Linked DNA regions of Homo sapiens: region 1 is linked to region 2. The links are contacts of gene promoters, found by promoter capture Hi-C in human tissues and cell types (Jung and others, 2019). All regions are on one chromosome and are shown on one strand. The core of a region is centred on a gene start or on the middle of the fragment in contact, and the rest is flanking DNA. Distances in the headings are between cores, read along the strand shown. Region 1 holds the start of ZNF440 (zinc finger protein 440). Region 2 holds the start of ZNF443 (zinc finger protein 443).

Region 1 (6,565 bases), core at 3,505-6,004, 630 kb before region 2:
TTTTGCTTTACTTATTCTCCAAAACCTAAGATATTTCTTAGAGTGTATGAACACTGTTCCACAAAATGCTCCAGTTAAAAATATATAAAATCACTTACTCCTTAGGAAGCTGTATAATACTTTTAAAGAAATTCCTTACTGAGTCAAGTGTGGTCAATATATTTATGTAACTGTCTGAATGCACGCCTAGGAAGGATGAAAGTCAGTATCACTATTCCAACCAAGCCTTTCTTGCTCAGATAATATGCTCTTGATGCACCCCTCTTTTTTCTTTTTGACACAGGGTCTCATTCTATCACCCAGGCTATGTGGAGTGCAGTGGCGTGATCTCGGCTCACTGCAATCTCCACCTCCTGGGCTCAAGCGATCCTCCCACCTTAGCCTCCCAAGTAGCTGGGACCATGCCCAGCTAATTTTTGTATTTTTTTTTTTAGAGACAAGGTTTCACCATGTTGCCCAGGCTGATCTCGAACAGGAGTTCAGCAACCCTTTTATGCCACACTGTAGAGTAATAGGCAACATGGAAAAGTTAGTTTTATATATTATGCAGTGGCATGGACCAATCCAATCACTTTTTTGAAGTGCCAGCCAAACTCTTCTTCAGAGAAGCCTGTTTGAAACCCCCTAGAGTCAAAACCTGGTACCACAGGACAGAGCAGCAATGAGTGACCAACCCCTGACTCTATGTGCAGATGACACATCCATCCCCAGATTAGGTATCAACATAAGTGAAAGGTACTGTCATTGCCTGTCATTTTTTTTTTTTTTGAGATGGAGTCTCACTTTGTCACCCAGGCTGGAGTGCAGTGGCACGATCTTGGCTCACTGCAACCTCTGCCTCCTGGGTTCAAGCTATTGTCCTGCCTCAGCCTCCCAAGTAGCTGGGATTACAGGTGCCCGCCACCACACCCGGCTAATTTTTGTATTTTTAGTAGAGACGGCGTTTCACCATGTTGGCCAGGCTAGTCTTGAACTCCTGACCTTGTGATCCACCTGCCTCGGCCTCCCAAAGTGCTGGGATTACAGGCGTGAGCTACTGCACCCAGCCCATTGCCTATCAGTTTTTATAGAGTGTCGCTTAGATCAAGAAAGAGATGGTAATACAGAGTTAGGTGTGTCTGAAACCAAACACGACCTCATCCTTCTCCCTTGAAGGCCAAATGCACTCTGAGAGTTTGGTTAGAGTACAAACAACGCCACCAACTTCACTCCAGATGTGATTTTCTACAGGAGGCGGGCACTGTGTTGGGATGGCCAGTGAAGGTAAGGAACACTAGAGGTGCAGGTTTAGGTGATGAACAGGACACAGCCTGGACATTATTAGCCTTGACTATGGAGGTGTCTTGATGTTTCTCAAATTGAGACCAGTCTGGCCAACAGGATACTGAACTGGTTTTCGATGGAAAAATTCATCTGTATAGGGATCTATTCGCTTCCTTTAAGTTTCAGTTTCGTTATGTGGCATTTAGCATGAGTGACTCCATTTTGGTCTGATCTGGTTTCTAAGTGCCTAGTGCAGAAGCTCAGTCCAAAACAATGGCCTCCCATAATGTTCATTTTAACATTTTCTTTATACTAATACATTATATCAGGTCACCTCAAATGTCACCTCCACAGAGGGTTCTTCCTCTCACCTCAGTTAGTCCTACTTCTTTCCATTCAGTTTTTTGTTACACTGCACTTTTTAGGATCTGGGAAATCTAATCAAAGTTCACAGGGTTTATTGCTTATTCTTTTTCTTTTTCTTTTTCTTTTTTTGAGACAGAGTCTCTCTTTGTCGCTGCCCAGGCTGGAGTGCAATGGTGTGATCTCGGCTCATTGCAACCTCCACCTTCCAGGTTCAAGCGATTCTCCTGCTTCAGCCTCCTTAGTAGCTGGGATTACAGGCATGCACCACCACACTCAGCTAATTTTTGTATTTTTAGTAGAGATGGGGTTTCACCATGTTGGCTAGGCTGGTCTCGAACTCCCAACCTCAGGTGATCCACTCACCTCAGCCTCCCAAAGTGCTGGGATTACAGGCATGACCACTATGCCCAGCCAGGTTCATTACTTTTTAAAAATCAATCTATGAAAAATTAAATTGGCCAGGCATGGTGCCTCAGAACCTGTAATCCCAGCACTTTAGGAAGCTAAAGTGGGAGGGTCACTTGAGGCCAGGAGTTGGAGAGCAGTCTGGGCAACACAGTGAAACCCCATCTGTACAAAAAATACAAAAATTCGCTGGGCTTGGTGGCGCACACCTGTGGTCCCAGGCTCTACTTGGGAGGCTGAGGTGGGAGAATTGCTTGAGTCCGGAAGATCAAGGCTGCAGTGAGCTCTGTTTGCACCACTGTACTCCAGCCTGGGTGACAGAGGGAGACCTTGTAAAAAAAAAAAAAGAAAGAAAGAAAGAAAGAAAGAAAGAAAGAGAGAGAGAGAGAGGGAGAGAGAGAAAGAAAGAAAGAAAGAAAGAAAGAAAGAAAGAAAGAAAGAAAGAAAGAAAGAAAGAAAGAAAGAAAGAAGAAAAGAAAAGAAAAATCATGTAAATGAAACCAAATTCAGTGATGTTACCTTAACTTTTTTTCTTTTTTCGGGTAGAGACAGGGTCCCACTATGTTGCCCAGGCTGGTCTCAAACTCCTGGCCTCAAGCGATCCTCCTACCTTGGCCTTCCAAAATGCTGGTATTACTGGTGTGAGCCACCACACCTGTCCTACCTTTATTTCTAATAACTGATATGCCTTACATTAAAAAGTCTTTTAGAAAACACCTTTGAGCCATTTTCCAGATAGGGGAAGTCAATGAAGCTCCCTCTTGTGGTGAGGGCGACTTTAACATCCACACATCCTGTCTGGGGGACTGGATTTCTGAGTTGTGCTGAGACTTAAGAGTGGAAAAAAAGTCTACTCTTTTTCCTCTGCTCTCACACAACACGGAATACTTCTGTGACCAAATGCAAATATTTGAGAAGTGTCCCCCACATGCCAAGCAAAGCATCAATTCTGCAACTGACTCCAGCTCGATGTCTTCTAGTTCCAACACTTTCTACCTTTACATAAGGTACAAAACTGCCTCAGAAATCATCTGACCATGTGTCCCGGTTTGCCAGTGATAATCCTTGATAGTACCTGTTGTCCCAACATAGTTTTTCATAGCACCTCATCTTGCCATGGTTATCTGTGTCTGAACAATGAATATGTATGAATACTTTCACACATAAGCAAAATTAGGTTTATTAAATGAAGTTTCCAGGAATGTTCAAATTTCAACACCTGATTTACCTTATCACAAGTTATGGCTGTGCTAATTTCTCCAGGAAATATTCACAGAATATTGAATTTATCATTGTAAGGTGTGGAGCAATGAAGATGCCCAAGAGGCCAGGCGCACACCTGTAATCCCAACACTTTGGGAGGCTGAGGCTGGAGGATCACTTAAGCTCAGGAGTTTGAGATCAACCTGAACAACCGAATGAGACCTCATCTCTACCAAAAATAAAAAACTAGCCAGGCATGGTGGCAGGCACTTGTAGTCCCACCTACTTAGGAGGCTGAGGTGGGAGGATTGCTTGAGTCTGGGAGGTTGAGGCTGCATTGAGTAGCCATCGCACCACTGCACTCCAGCTTGGGCGACAGAGTGAGACCCCGTCTCAAAAAAAGATGGCTAAAACATAATTTTTTTTTTTTTGAGATGGAGTCTCACTGTGTCTCAGGCTGGAATGCAGTGGCACGATCTTGGCTCACTGCAAACTCTGCCTCCCGGTTCAAGCAATTCTCCTGCCTCAGCCTTTCAAGTAGCTGGGATTACAGGCATGCGCCACCATTCCTGGCTAATTTTTGTATTTTTAGTAGAGATAGGATTTCACCATGTTGGCCAGGCTGGTCTTGAACTCCTGACCTCGTGATCCACCTGCCTCAGCCTCTCAAAGTGCTGGGATTACAGGCATGAGCCACCGCGCCCGGCCTGCCTAAATCATAATTTCTATGACAGAATTTCTCATTTACAGCTTCCCCTGAGACCATCTTTCATTTCAGTTAACCCTGCTCCTTGGGGGTTATATGTGAGATAAAAGTGCCATGCTATATCATGTTCCCTGGCTCAGTCCTACACAGCATGTCCTGAAAAATGGGTCTTCAGTCACTGTCAATGCACCAGGGATAGATATACATAGTACTGAGAGCCTCTAAATCTTTAATAAGTTCTGGCTTGGTTAGCTCCCTTACAAGGAAAACCTTGCTGGAGTCCATAGCAGTGTGAGGAAGCCTTGGCCATGCCTCATCCCATTTCCCGCACGCTGGAAGACATCTGCCTCTCTCTCCTGGTGCAGTCGTGCCTTGCCTGGTCTGGGCTCCCCTCCTGCTCTGAGGCAAGCGTATCTCTCCATTGAACACTGAGTCTGAAATGCCCTGCACACACTTGTGATCCCGTGCAGAAGGAAGGAGCAGGGACAGCCCCTTGAATGAGGAAGCTAACAGTGCCTCTTCTAACAATAAGGAGCAAGTCGCCTTGAAATGCAAATATCTGATGACCAGGGCTCAAGGAAGGCGCTCGCTTAGAGAGGCTGTTCGCTTAGAGAGGCTGCTCGCTTAGAGAGGCTGCTCGCTCAGAGACGCTGTGGCCAGAACAAGTCAGACATGATCTGCAGGACCCGGTTACCCAGGGCTTCTGCTGTCACTCAGCACGGAGGAGGCGGGGCCTGGCGCCCCATCCAATCAGGGGTGCTGGGGCGGGGCCCTGTCAACTGTCCATCCGGGGAAGGGGGAAGGGACAGTCGCCCTCCGTCCATTCCTTTAGTGCTGCGCCGACAGCGGTCAGGATCTCGGCTTTCTTGCTTCGAGAGGGACTAGGTGCCTCCACCAGAGCTTCTGTCGCTCTGTAACCTGCACTGTGACCTACACTAGTCGCGGGAGCCACGCAGAGGACGCCGGAACACCCTGGAAGCCGAGAAATGGTGTGTGTGAGGGGGCTGGCGTCCGGGCGACTGGGAGAGGGGCTGGAATCGGCCGGAACCGGCTGAGGCGGGACCCGGGCCTCCACGCGGCGACTCCGGGGTCGTGGACGCGAGTCCCCTCGGTCGCAGGGTGGGGCTGGGCCGGCAGCCGGGACCCCGGGCCTCCTGTCCCGTCCCTTCACGGCGACTGCGGCCCCGGCTCCGGAGCCTAATCTGGGCAGCTCCGCGTCTCCCCACATTATGCGGGGGCCACGGGAGGGATATGGGGGGATCCCGCCTCGGATATGGGGTTTGTTAGAAACAAGTGCCCGGTGCCGCAAAGAAAACCAGCATCTAGGCAGAAAATTCCTCAGCAAAGCAAATTTATTTCTACACAAGGGTGCAGCTTGCGCCAGTCACAAGAGCACAGCGAGCGGGGTAGGGCAGGGGTTTTTCTCCTTAACGCAGTTTCTAGCACTTCTGTGTCCTTTCCTCATTGGCTAGGGTTGGACCTCACAATCTAAACTAACTCGATAGGCTAAGGTTTAAAATTAAATAGGGTCTGGCCAGGCGCGGTGGGTCACGCCTGTAACCCCAGCACTTTGGGAGGCCGAGGCAGGCGGATCGCGAGGTCAGGAGATCGAGACCATCCCTGGCTAACACGGTGAAACCCCGTCTCCACTAAAAATACAAAAAAATTAACTGGGTATGGTGGCGGGCGCCTGTAGTTCCAGCTACTCGGGAGGCTGAGGCAGGAGAATGGCGTGAACCCGGGAGGTGGAGCTTGCAGTGAGCCGAGATCGCACCACTGTACTCCAGCCTGGGCAACAGAGCGAGACAACTGGGCAACTCCGTCACACACACACACACACACACACACACACACACACACACACAAATTAAATAGGGTCTATGAGACGGGAAGGAACAGGGACTGTCCGTTACTAGGCGGGAAGGCGTATCTGGACTTGTCTGGGCGCGGCAAAAGCGGGAAGGTTGTTTACAGAACAGGTAGCTAGGAGACAAGGAAGTCGGTCTCAAGAAACAAAGAACAGCTTACTAAAGCTTTTAGAAAAGTAATTTATCATCTCTGACAGGTTCGTGTGGGAGGAGTAGCGGTCTTTGGGGTCCCCAGTGCCCACTTTTTTCTGTTAAAAATTAAACTGAGGTACGTTAACAATTAAAGAGTTTAGGGCCGGGCGCGGTGGCTCACGCCTGTAATCCCAGCACTTTGGGAGGCCGAGGCGGGCGGATCAGGAAGTCAGGAGTTCAAGACCAGCCTGGCCAACATGGTGAAACCCCATCTCTACTAAAAATACAAAAATTAGCTGGGCATGGTGGCGCGTGCCTGTAATCCCAGCTACTTGAGAGGCTGAGGCAGAAGAATTGCTTGAACCCAGGAGGCGGCGGTTGCAGTCAGCCAAGACGGCGTCACTCCAGCCTGGCAACAGAGCCAGACTCCATCTCAAAACAACAACAACGATTCACGAATGAGAAACACCCAGTCCTGGCTTGTGGTTTGTCAACGGAAAAAGCCAAGCTATGTAAAATAAAGAAGTTTATTAGGAGCCGAATAGGAGAGCCGTTGGCCGAGGGAAACACAACCCCAAGCAGCCTGGAGTAAGTGGTCCCGAGGCAGCTCAAGACAGTTTGG
Region 2 (5,897 bases), core at 1,154-3,653:
GAAGAGGGTTTTTCCCTTGGTAGTAGTTATACTACTAAGTCCTGAAATTCCATCTGAAATCATCCGAAAAACAAACACACCTGAGAAACGTACTACACAAGCTCTGGGGCAAAAAAAATAAATAAAGGCTTTTAAAAAATGGAATAGAAGATTACATATACCATTTATATTCTGAAGTCCAACTCTTTCTAGTATTACTTATAAAATTTATTTTCTGAAGTCCGACTCTTTCCAACTTTGGGTATACTTTGTCTTCAAAGTATAAAATAACAATCTCTAATCATAGGATGTATTTCACGGTTAATCAAAAATTTAGGCTGAAAAGAGTAAACATATCTTTTCAAGCTAACAAACTCAGGAATCAGCAGTGCTGACTGGAACACAGAAAAGTCTAATGCAACAATCAGTGCAGGTCATCCTATCACCTGGGACATCCCTTAACCCTATTCTGTTCGCCACCCTCCTAGGAGACACTCACCACCCTCCTAGGAGACACTGCCTTGTGTGCTTTTCAGGATCTTGCACTACCTCAAAGGGCAGGTTCTCCAGTCCTTAGATATAACTTTCTACCTTTTAAGTCTGAGAGAGTCCAGAAGGCAAAAATCATTTCCGTTTTTTTTCCTATGGAATATGACCATGAAATTGGCTGTTCAGTCATGTGTCTCCAAGGAATGGAAACTAGGGTTGGGAAGAAAAGGTGAGTGTCCCAGGAGTTAGCTTTTTACAGGAATTATATACCAGAAGATTCCTCCCATCCCAGTGGATCCAGTTGCTCCCCAGGGGGCCACACCTTCCATCTCAGGCTGTCCCCTGGGAGGAGTGACCCAGGGGATGATATTCACTAGACCCTCCAAGAGACTTGGCAGCTGTGGACATCCATTTTTTTTGAGACAGGGTCGGCCTCTGTTGCCTAGGCTGGGATGCAGAGGCACGATCATAGCTCACTGCAACTTCAAACTCCTGGGCTCCAGCCATCATCCCACCTCAGCCTCAGGAGTAGCTGCGACTACAGGTGCCAGCTACCAAGCCCAGCTAATTTTATTATTATCATTTACACTAGAGACAAAGTCTTGCCATGTTGCCCAGGCTGGTCTGGAACTACTGGGATCAAGCAATACCTCTGCCTTAGCCTCCCAAGGTGCTGGAATTACAGGAATGACCCACCGTGTTCAGGAACCCAAAACAATTCTTTCAAGAAAAAGCCATACATTGCTAGCTGAAAACAAGATGACAAACTAGTGAAATATCGCCTGGGGCCAAACAGTTCATACTGTTGCTGTGAATTAAGGACAGAAGGTTAGCCTGGGGAAGTCTCTGGAAACCAAGAGATTTGCTGCCAGCCCTAGGAAGAGTCAGGATGAGAGAACACAGTGGTGGATTTGAGACCCTGCTGCCCACGTCTTTGGAAGACTCAGAGGGGAAACGGTCGCCCTTGGAAAGGAAGAAAGGACTGAGGACCACGGAAACCACAGCTCCTCCCACACACAAACCCCACACACGAGTCTGGATTCCACCTGGTGACTCGTCGTCACCGTGCAGCCTCCTCACCGGGTTCACAGGAACTGCGAGCCAGGCTGGAGGCGAGATTGCAGTTAGATATTAAACAGGTGCCCTCAGCCCCGCTGCCTCAAGGGGCCGCCTCCCTGAGAGTCAGGTCACAGCAGACGCTGACCGCCGGCTTCCCCATTGTGCCTGGGGATAAGATCTCCGAGTGCTGCTCAAGAGTCGCCGGAGTTCTCAGATCCTGAATCCCAGCAGAAAGGCTGGCGCCAACCAGGTTGAAGACCCCACGAGGGAGCCCTCTCAGCAGAATGCGGTTTCTTCACCTCCTGTCCCAGGATTCACCCCTCACTTCCCCACCAACCAAGGACGCTACACCCAGCCGCCCCCGTCCAGACCCCAAATCCCTCAGGGAGGCGGATCTGGGGTGTCCTCCCCTCTCCTCCTGTTAAACCGTTTCTGCTGCAGCCCTCGGCGTCTCGGTGCAGTGAGTCGGGCCGCGAACCTGTGTTGGTTACAGCCGCACAATCTGGGGAGACCCGGGGCTGCGGGCTCGGAGCTGCCCAGAGAGGGCGCCGGGGCCGCAGTCGCCGCGCAGGAACGGGACAGGACGCCCGGGGTCCCGGCTGCATGCCCAGCCCCACCCTGCGGCCGAGGGCCGACCTACGCCAGGGGGACCCGGGTCCGTAGATCCCGAAGTCGCCCTTGGGGAGGCCCGGGTCCAGCCACAGCCGATTACGGCCGGTTCCACCTAACCCCTCCCCCGCCTCGGGACGCCGGCCCAGCACACGCACCATTTCCCGACTTCCGCGGTGTCCCAGGTCCTACCGACAGCTCCCGCTGCCAATGCGTGTTCCAGCCAGACAAAGGCTGCCTCAGAACTTCCAGGTCGTCTCTCAGCTACAGAACCCAGAGCCGAGCGCAGGTGGGTGGAGCAGACGCCGCGGGCTTTTTCAACCACACACACTTCTCTGGGCAGTGCCTGATTGACAGTTCCCACGAACCCGCCCCACGCCCCTGATTGGATAGGGCGTCAGGTCCCGCCCCCTGAGGGCTGATTGACAGAAGAAGCGATCTTGCACAGCTGAGTGGAGCCGGATGAGCAAGTTCCTGACACAGCCCTTGGCAGGGGGGGCTTCCTCCCTGCTCTTTGATCTGAATCCTCCCGGGTTATATTTGCACTTAAGCGGAATTTCCTGCCCGTACTCAATAGGACCTCCTGCTTCTTCCTCCTGGACACGGACTGACAAACTAATTATATCTTTTTTTTTTTTTTTCCTCGAGAGGGAGTCTTGCTCTGTCGCCCAGGCTAGAGTGCAATGGTGCGAGGCTCACTGCAACCTTCGCCTCCTGGGTGGGTTCAAGCAATTCTCCTGCCTCAGCCTCCCGAGTAGCTAGGATTACAGGCACGCGCCACCACCCGGCTAATTTTTGTATTTTTCAGTAGAGGCTGGGTTTCACCATGTTGGCCAGGCTGGTCTCAAACTCGTGACCTCGTGATCCGCCTACCTTGGCCTCCCAAAGTTCTGGGATTAGAGGCGTGAGCAACTGCGCCTGGCTCCAATTATGCTCTTTTTCAATGAAATTTTTCAAGATTTTTCAATGTACAATTAAATTATTTTTTACTATAGTCACTCTGTTGTGCTAGCAAATACTAGGTCTTATTCATTCTTTGTAACTATTTTTTATACCTATTAACCATCCCCACTTCCCCCATAACTACTCCTCGCTACTACTTTTCGCAGCCTCTGGTAACCATCCTTCTACACATTTTTGGTTGTTTGAGATGGGGTCTTGCTCTGTTACCTAGGCTGGAGTGCAGTGGGGCCATCATGGCTCACTGCAACCTCTACCTCCTAAGCTCAAGCAATCCTCCCACCTCAGCCTCTCAAGTAGCTTCAGATTGTTCACTGTTGGCATATAAAAATGTTATTGATTTTTGTGTGTTGATATTGTATACTGCAACTTTACTGAATTTATTTCTCAGTTCTAATACTTTTTTGGTGGAGTCTTTAGGTATTTCCAGATATAAGATCATATTATATGCAAACAAGGATAATTTGACTTCTTCCTTCCCAATATGGATGCCCTTTATTTCTTTTTTTTTCTTTTTTTTTTTTTTGTCTTATTGCTCTAGCTGGGACTTCAAGTACTGTGTTGAACAACAGTGGTAAAAGTGGGCATTCTTATTGTGTTCCAGATCTTACAGGAAGGGCTTTCAGTTTTTCCCCATTCATTATCATGCTAGCTGTGGGTCTGCCATATATAGCTTTTATTATGTTAAGGTATGCTCCTTCTTTACCCACTTTTTTTTAGGGTTTTTATCATGAAGGGATGTTAAATATTATCAAAAGCTTTTTCAGTGCACATTGAAATGATTATATGGTGTTTGCCCTTTATTCTGTTGAAATGATACATCACATTGATTGATTTGCATATATTGAACCATCCTTGCATCCCAGGGATAAAGCCCACTTGGTCATGATGAATGATCTTTTTGGTGTATTGTTAAATTCAGTTTGCTAGTATTGAGTTGAGGATTTTTGCATCAATATTCATCAGTGACACTGGCCTATAGTTTTCTTTTTCTGACATGTCTTTGTCTGGTTTTGGTGTCAAAGTAATATTGGCTTTGTAAAATAAATTTGGAAGTATTGCCTTCTCCTCTGTTTTTTGGAATAGTTTGAGTAAGATTGGTATTAGTTCTTTTTTAAATGTTGGTAGAATTCAGCAGTGGAGCCACTGGGTTCTGGGGTTTTCTTTGCTAGGAGACTTTTTATTATGGCTTTGATCTCATTATTTGTTATTGGTCTGTTCAGGTTTTTTATTTCTTCATGGTTCAATGTTGCTATGTTCTATCTGCCTAGGAATTTATCAGTTTCTTCTAGGTTTTCCAGTTTATTGGCATATAGTTGTTCTTAGTTGCATTAATGATCCTTTGAATTTCTGCAGTATCAACTGTAATGTCTCCTTTTTCACCTCTAATTGTATTTATTTGGGCCTGGTTTTTTCTTAGTCTACCTCAAGGTTTGTCAATTTTGTTTGTCTTTTCAAAAAACCAACTTTTTGTTTCATTGTTCTTTTCTATTGTTTCTTCATTTCAAATTCATTTATTTCTACTGATTTTTATTATTTCTTTTCTTCTACTGATTTTGGGTTTGGTTTGCTCTTGCTTTTCTAATTCTTTAAGATGCATTCTTAGGTTGTTTATTTGAAGGTTTTCTTCTTCTTCTTTTTTTTTTTTTGAGATGAGTTTCACTTCACTCTTGCAGCCTAGGCTGGAGTGCAATGGCGCAATCTCAGCTCACTGCCACCTCTGCCTTCTGGGTTCAAGCAGTTCTCCTGCCTCAGCCTCCCAAGTAGCTGGGATTACAGGCACCGACCACCATGTCATTTTTTGTATTTTTAGTAGATACAGGGTTTCACCATGTTGGCCAGGCTGGTCTCGAACTCCTAACCTCAGGTGATCCACTCCCTTTGGCCTCCTAAAGTGCTGGGATTACAGATGGGAGCCACTGCACCCAGCCTGAAGGTCTTCTTCTTTTTTGATGTAGGTGCTTATATCTATAAACTTCCCTCTTAGTACTGCTTTTGCTGTATTCCATAGGTTTTGGTATGTTGCATTTTCATTATCATTTGTTTGAAGAAACTTTTCAATTTTCTTCTTAATTTCTTCATTGACCCACTCGTCATTCAGGAGCGTATTGTTTAATTTCCATATGTTTGTATGGTTTCCAGAATTCCTCTTGTCATTGGTTTCTAGTTTATTCCACTTATTCTGTGACACAATTTATATTATTTCAATTTTTCGGAGCGTTTTAAGACATGTTTTTTGACCTAACATATGGTCTATCCTTGAGAATGATTCCTGTGCTCAGGAAAAGTATGTGTATTCTGTAGCTGTTGGATAAAATGTGCTGTAAATATCTATTAGGTCCATTTGATCTATAGTGTAGATTAAATCCCATTTAATCTTTCTTTTGTCCAATTTTTCAGTATATATTGAAATAATCTTTGTTGATTTACTGTCTGGAAGATCTGTCCAGTTCTGAATATGGGGTGTTAAAATCTCCAGCTATTAGTGTATTGGTGTCTATCTCTCTCTCTCTCTTTTTTTTTTTTTTTTTGAGACAGAGTTTCACTCTTGTTGCCTAGGCTGGAGTGTAGTGGTGCAATCTTGGCTTACTGCAGCCTCCACCTCCAAGGTTCAAGCAATTCTCCTGCCTCAGTCTCCCAAGTAGCTAGGATTACAGGTGCCCACCACCACACCTGGCTAATTTTTTGTATTTTTAGTAGAGACGGGGTTTTGCCATGTTGGCCAGGCTGGTCTTGAACTCCTGGCCTCAGGTGATCCACCTGCCTTGGCCTCGCAAAGTGCTGGGATTACAGGCATAAGC

Evidence for each region. Contacts are between HindIII fragments. The study calls those that stand out against the background at their distance.
Region 1: the fragment with the promoter of ZNF440 here is called in contact with the fragment with the promoter of ZNF443 in region 2 in 2 of the 25 tissues and cell types used here (IMR-90 fibroblasts and lymphoblastoid cells).

The regions. Positions count from the first base shown.
Region 1 is chr19:11,809,519-11,816,083 of GRCh38, forward strand. ZNF440 (zinc finger protein 440) reads left to right here and starts at 4,755. Exons shown (of 4, transcript NM_152357.3): 1 at 4,755-4,932. The coding sequence starts at 4,930. RefSeq lists silencers at 2,746-2,855, 4,590-4,669, 5,090-5,159. The HindIII fragment of the contact is 18,958 bases long and covers 1-6,565 here.
Region 2 is chr19:12,438,618-12,444,514 of GRCh38, forward strand. ZNF443 (zinc finger protein 443) reads right to left here and starts at 2,404. Exons shown (of 4, transcript NM_005815.5): 1 at 2,295-2,404. The coding sequence starts at 2,297. RefSeq lists a silencer at 2,083-2,172 and an enhancer at 2,583-2,852. The HindIII fragment of the contact is 16,773 bases long and covers 1-5,897 here.